Linked DNA regions of Homo sapiens: region 2 is linked to region 1. Evidence: promoter capture Hi-C in 16 types of primary human blood cells and fetal thymus (Javierre and others, 2016). All regions are on one chromosome and are shown on one strand. The core of a region is centred on a gene start or on the middle of the fragment in contact, and the rest is flanking DNA. Distances in the headings are between cores, read along the strand shown.

Region 1 (3,251 bases), core at 305-2,804:
CACCACAGTGCCACTCAGAAGGGCAGGAGCAGAGCCCTGGGAGGGCAGGGAGCAAACCCTGAGCGGGCCTGGCTGGGGGGTTGCTGGCACAGTGGGCAGCTGTTGGGTGGGTTGGGGGAGGGGGTGGTGATGTCTCTTGGGGGGTCAAGGTGCCCGAGTTGCAGGCCCTGGAGGGCTGGGGCTGGCCAGGGCTGCCATCTCACGCTGCTGGGGGAGGCAGAGGGAGGGACGGAGCCATGCAGGGCCTTCCAGTGCTTTCCCACGCTGAGGTGGCTTCGGGGACACAGCCCTGAGGACACACAGGCCTGCGCCCAGCCCCCTTCTCCCCTCGTAGTGGCCCAGGCTGTACCCCGTACACGGCAGCTATGGGCACTATGGGGACACTCAGGCCCCAGCAGGAGTCAGAAGGTAGAGATGGCGGGAGGCCCCCCACTTCCGTGAGGTGCCTGGCCCCTGCCCCCTTCCTGGCTCTGTCTACACCCAGGCATCTCATCTCTCCCACACCGGGGGCTCCTGGCTCTGGAAGCCAATTCCTCCCTTATCAGCAGCGGCAGCCTTTGGGTGCCACGTCGGGGTCTTGGCCCCTCTCTGTCTGCCCGCGTCTGTCTCCTCTCTCCTCCCGTCAACTTGGGGCTCTCGCCACCCAGTGCCCGCCCCCCCCACCCCATGCTCCCGTTCACGCTCTCTTTCTCTCCAGCCTCCTTCCAGCGCCAATCCTGGTTGCCATGGAAACACTGCAGCGGGTACCAGGTGGTGGCTGGGGGCAGGGAGCCTGCGCTGCCGCAGCCTGCGCCATTTCCGATGCCAGGCACCCTCAAGGCACAGAGGCTGGGGCTCATGTTGGGGGCACTTGGCCTCTCCAGGCCTCGAAGGCTTCTCCTGGGCTGACGCGAGCTGGGGAACGGGAGGGACGGACGTGGGAGCGAGAACGTCACACTGGAGGCAGCTGGTGGCACGATGGGGGACAGAGTGAAAGGTAGCAAGTCAAGGTGAACTGAAGGATGATCAGAGCGGAGGGAGGCTGTGGACAGGGGCGGAGGCTGTGGGAAGGGGACCCGTGCTGCGCAGCGGGGCTAGGGAGGTTGGACCCGCTGAGGCAAGGGCACATTGAGGAGAAGCCACAACCAGGGCTCCCGCTGCCTCTGGGAGGGCTAGGGCCACGGCCAGGCTGAAGCCTCCCTCAGACCTTAGCCGCCTGAGGACAAGGAGGAGAGGTGAGCACGAGGGGACAGACAGAGCCCAGAGTCCCTGTCACCATCTCTTCTCCCAACCCAAAGCAAGATGCAGTTTCCATGACAACCTGGCCGGCCAGAGAGGGGGCAGGGGACTGCAGAGGAAACTTTCCACATCAGCAGGGAGAAAGAGGGTGTGCTGCAGGGGAAAGGGGGGCACGCAGGGTTCCCAGAACCCCCGGTCACCATGCTCACTGTGCTGGACCCGGGAAAGTGGACAGAGCACAGGGAAGGGTTCTCCCGCCTCCACTCCCGCAGGCCCACGCCCCCACGCTGGGCCTGCGGGGAAGGGGGAAGACTGAGCCCAGAGGCTCAAGGGTCAGATGTCCAAAGAGCAGCGGCTGCCCAGGCCTTGTGCAGCGGGCAGCGAGCAGCCCAGGGAGCCAGGCCCCAGACACCGCACTCAGGGCCATGGCCGACAGGGGCCCGTGGAGGGTGGGCGTGGTGGGCTATGGCCGCCTCGGTGAGTCCCTGACCATCCTTGGCCTCCTTCCCCAAACCCCTTCCTAAAGCTCCCAAGACTCTCTGCCCTCCACAAACACTTTTTTCTCTCTCTATCTGCCCCTGGCTGTGTCTCTGGGTCTGCCCACTGCACCCCCACCCCAGGTCTCTGTCCTCTCCGTCTCTGTCTCCCTTCTCTCTGGGCCTCTGTCCACCCCACTGTGTCTCTGCCCTGCCCCCATCTCTGTCTCCCTACCCCGCAATCTGAGTCTGTCCCCACCTCCTCTCTCTCTGGGTCTCTGTCCCCACCTCCTCTCTCTCTGGGTCTCTGTCCCCCTCTCTCTGGATCTCTAGCCCTCTCCTTTCCCTCTCCCCAGGACAGTCCCTCGTCTCCCGCCTCTTGGCTCAGGGACCAGAACTTGGCCTAGAACTTGTTTTTGTCTGGAATCGTGACCCAGGACGAATGGCAGGGAGCGTGCCCCCTTCCCTGCAGCTCCAGAACCTTGCTGCCCTTGGGGAAAGGTCAGTGACCTTGCCATGGGAGAGTGGAGCTCCCTGAAGCTCCTGTCCTGGCTCTCTTAGCCACTGTGTGATCTCAGGGGTTCCCTGACCCTCTCTGGGCCTTGGTTCAAGCAAATGTGAAACAGGACGAACCCATTCATCTCATTTCGCCTCCCAGGTCAGGGAGAAGAAGGGCAGCCCTCAGTAGACTCGGAGGGAACCTTGGGGAGAAGAGGCCTAATACCTCTCCAAGACCCTCCGCCCTCTTTCCCCTCTCCCAGGCGCCCTGATCTGGTTGTGGAAGTGGCCCATCCCAAAATAATCCATGAATCTGGGGCACAAATCCTGCGCCATGCCAATCTCCTGGTAAGCCCCACCCCAACCATTTACGCAGAGCCCTGCCCCTTCTGTCTTGGTCTCACCCCACCCTGAAGTGGATATCCTTCCCTGACCTCAACCCTCCCCTCCTTCATCCACCCCAGGTGGGGTCCCCCTCAGCTCTAAGTGACCAGACCACAGAGCGGCAGCTCTTGGAGGCCTCACAGCACTGGGACCACGCCGTGTTTGTGGCCCGAGGGGCCCTGTGGGGCGCTGAGGACATCAGGAGATTGGATGCAGCTGGGGGCCTCCGGGTGAGGCCTGCTGGGCTCCCCAGGAACCAGGGGAGGCCTGCAAAGACCCCACTCCCCCTAACCCGGGCTCTTGCTTCCAGAGCCTTCGTGTCACCATGGCCACACACCCCGATGGCTTCCGGCTTGAGGGACCCCTGGCTGCAGCCCACAGCCCTGGGCCTTGCACTGTGCTCTACGAAGGCCCTGTCCGTGGGCTCTGCCCCTTTGCCCCGCGAAATTCCAACACCATGGCGGCGGCTGCCCTGGCTGCCCCCAGCCTGGGCTTCGATGGGGTGATTGGGGTGCTCGTGGCTGATACCAGGTGAGCAGAGCTAAGCAGGGTGTTGGGCTGAGTCCAGGCTCTCCAGACTGACTGCCCCTCTTGTCCCAGCCTCACGGACATGCACGTGGTGGATGTAGAGCTGAGCGGACCCCGGGGCCCCACGGGCCGAAGCTTTGCTGTGCA
Region 2 (3,154 bases), core at 8-2,507, 440 kb before region 1:
TCCTGACCTCGTGATCCGCCCGCCTCGGCCTCCCAAAGTGCTGGGATTACAGGCGTGAGCCACCGCGCCCGGCCATGATCATCTTCTTGACTATGCTGATGTGACAAGTACCTAAAGCCATCAGACTCTACCCTTTAAATATGCAGTTTGGGCCAGGCACCGTGGCTCATGCCTGTAATTCCAGCACTTTGGGAGGCAGAGGTGGGTGAATCACTTGAGGCCAGGAGTTTGAGACCAGCCTGGCCAACATGGTGAAACTCTGTCTTTACTAAAAAAAAAAAAAAAAAAAAAAAAATCAGCCGGGTGTCGTGGGGCACACCTGTAATCCCAGCTATGCTGGAGGCTGAGGCACGAGAGTCACTTGAACCCTGGAGGCGGAGGTTGCAGTGGGCCGAGATCACATCACCGCCCTCCAGCCTGGGCGACAGAGCAAGACTCTGTCTCAAATAAATAAATAAACAAACGAACAAGCAGTTTGTTGTACCTTAGTTATATCTAAAAAAAAAATGCTGTCAACAAATAGAGCAGAAGTGAAATAAAGGAAAATAAATGGGCCAAGAACTCTAAGGTATATTTGACAAATCATTCAGAACCTTTAAAAAAGAAAGAATCACAGAGGCATAGAAAGACAGGGAGGAACAGGGAGACAGAAACACCTGTGGCCCAAGGAGAACAAAACAAGGCTCCTAAGACAGACAGGAGGAGAGAGAGAGAGAGTGAGTGAGAGACAGACAGAGAAAAAGACAGAGAGAGAGAGACAGAGACAGAGAGACAGAGAGGCGAGAGGGATAGAAAGAGAGAGAGGGGTGGAGAGAGACACGAGATATTGAGAGAGACTCAGAAAGATAGCCGAGGGAGAACCACAGAGAGATGGAAGAAGACTCTGAGAAAAAACCAGAGACAAAGATGGAAAGAGGAGTATCGAGGGTGAACAGACAGTGGTGGAATGAGCAAAATGCAGAGAAGAAAGCAAGCAATCCAGGCGCCAAGAATAGTGACCCAGAGTTGGTGAGAAGCCAGATCCTTAAGGCTGGGGGAGGCAGGGAAGGGGCTGGCCTGGCTTCCGGAGACCCCTCCCCATTCTCCGGGCCAGGGAGGTAGGGAGTGACATTCCGGACTGGGTGGGGGGTGCTCTGGGGGTGGAGATAGGGGGAGCAGGAGGAGCTATTGCTAAGGCCCGATAGGCACCTCATTGCCCGGGAATGTGCCCCAGGGAGCAGTGGGTGGTTATAACTCAGGCCCGGTGCCCAGAGCCCAGGAGGAGGCAGTGGCCAGGAAGGCACAGGCCTGAGAAGTCTGCGGCTGAGCTGGGAGCAAATCCCCCACCCCCTACCTGGGGGACAGGGCAAGTGAGACCTGGTGAGGGTGGCTCAGCAGGCAGGGAAGGAGAGGTGTCTGTGCGTCCTGCACCCACATCTTTCTCTGTCCCCTCCTTGCCCTGTCTGGAGGCTGCTAGACTCCTATCTTCTGAATTCTATAGTGCCTGGGTCTCAGCGCAGTGCCGATGGTGGCCCGTCCTTGTGGTTCCTCTCTACCTGGGGAAATAAGGTAGGGGAGGGAGGGGAAGTGGGTTAAGGGCTCCCCGGATCGCCTGGGCCTCCCAACCCTCTGACATTCCCCATCCAGGTGCAGCGGCCATGGCTACAGCAAGACCCCCCTGGATGTGGGTGCTCTGTGCTCTGATCACAGCCTTGCTTCTGGGGGTCACAGGTAACCAGAACTCTGGGGTGGGAGGGTTGTGGGATTGGGAGGACTGTCTCTGCGGCACTAGAGCGCCTGTCCCCTGGGGAACTGTGTGAGCCTGGGCATGACTCCGGGACCGGGTGAATGTGAGTCTCTGTCTGTACTTGTGGTTGTGCGATCGTATGTGGCCCTGTGACTGCCACGGTGTGTGTCGGGGAGGGGGATGCCTTTTCCCATATCAGGTGACTGTGCGGCAGGTGGCACTGACCCTTTGAGGCTGTGTGTGTGGTTTTGTGATTGTGTGTGCATTTAAGATTGTGTGTGGCTCCACAGCTGTGTGGGTGAATGCATGTAGCACTGGGGGTGTTCACTGTGTGTTTGGCTGTGTGTGGTGACTTGGCATTGTATATGACTGCAGGTATCTGCAGTTCCTGTCCCTGAGGTCCCGGGATTGCGTGCAACAAAAGTGGTCATCACCATGGAAAGCTGTGACTGTGTGCTGCTTGCAGGCGATTATGTGATTGTGGCTGAGTGTGACGTTATGGATGCCCGTATTTGTGACCGTGTGACTACCTGAAGCTCTGTGTAGGGGTGACTGTATGTGACTGTGTGTGTCTGTGTGAGGCCGTGTAAATGCTACTGTATGTGTGATGGTGCAGCTGTGTGTCTGGAGTTTCTGTCTCTGCCTGGAGGGATAGAGGGTGCAGGGGTAGCTATCTCTGGGAGATGGGTGCCAGGTGACTGACTTGCAGTGTGTGCCTGTGTGCAGAAGAGTATGTGGCAGTCTGAACATCTGTGCACACACGGCATCTGTGCGTGGCACTGAGACACTGTGGATGAGGGTGTGCGATCCCGCTAGGCTGCCCGGGAGCGTGTGTACCTGGAGACAGAGCTGTATGTTAGCTGCACCTGTGGAGGCAACATGGGCGTGTCTGCAGAACTGCGTGCGTGCTTGGCTGTTACTGCTGTTGTGCGCGTGGTTCTTGGGGTGAGTTCGTGAATGATGGTGGTGCCAGGGCCATCAGCAAGGGTAAGAACCAGGCCGGGCGCGGTGGCTCACGCCTGTAATCCCAGCCCTTTGGGAGGCCGAGGCAGGCGGATCACCTGAGGTCGGGAGATCGAGGCCAGCCTGACCAACATGGAGAACCCCGTCTCTACTAAAAATACAAAAAATTAGCTGGTGTGGTGGCGCGTGCCTGTAATCCCAGCTACTCGGGAGACTGGGGCAGAAAAATCGCTTGAACCCGGGAGGTGGAGGTTGCGGTGAGCCGAGATCGCGCCATTGCACTCCAGCCTGGGCAACAAGAGCGAAACTCCGTCTCGAAAGAAAAAAAGAAAAAAAAAAGGGTAAGAACCAGTGAATGGGCACGGGAGGACTGATGATGGAGTGGGGCATGCATGTAGTCTGTAGGTCTGTGTGTGAGAGGAGGAGATTGACAGGATTGAGAAGGCATGTTTTCATCTGAGAATT

Evidence for each region. The method cuts DNA at HindIII sites, captures the fragments that hold promoters and counts their contacts. A CHiCAGO score of 5 or more calls a contact.
Region 2: the fragment with the promoter of KLK5 here is called in contact with the fragment with the promoter of ASPDH in region 1 in 2 of 17 cell types (M0 macrophages and M2 macrophages); the score reaches 5.7 in M0 macrophages.

Annotation. Positions count from the first base shown.
Region 1 is chr19:50,512,216-50,515,466 of GRCh38, reverse strand. It overlaps ASPDH (aspartate dehydrogenase domain containing), which reads left to right and starts at 1,554. Exons shown (of 7, transcript NM_001114598.2): 1 at 1,554-1,695; 2 at 2,051-2,195; 3 at 2,456-2,540; 4 at 2,657-2,806; 5 at 2,887-3,107; 6 at 3,177-3,251. The coding sequence starts at 1,644. The region is part of intron 1 of LOC124904747 (a long non-coding RNA gene); the gene reads right to left. RefSeq lists an enhancer at 3,082-3,251. The HindIII fragment of the contact is 8,504 bases long and covers 1-3,241 here.
Region 2 is chr19:50,951,141-50,954,294 of GRCh38, reverse strand. KLK5 (kallikrein related peptidase 5) reads left to right here and starts at 1,257. Exons shown (of 6, transcript NM_012427.5): 1 at 1,257-1,548; 2 at 1,627-1,710. The coding sequence starts at 1,638. The region is part of intron 1 of LOC105372442 (a long non-coding RNA gene); the gene reads right to left. The HindIII fragment of the contact is 21,591 bases long and covers 1-3,154 here.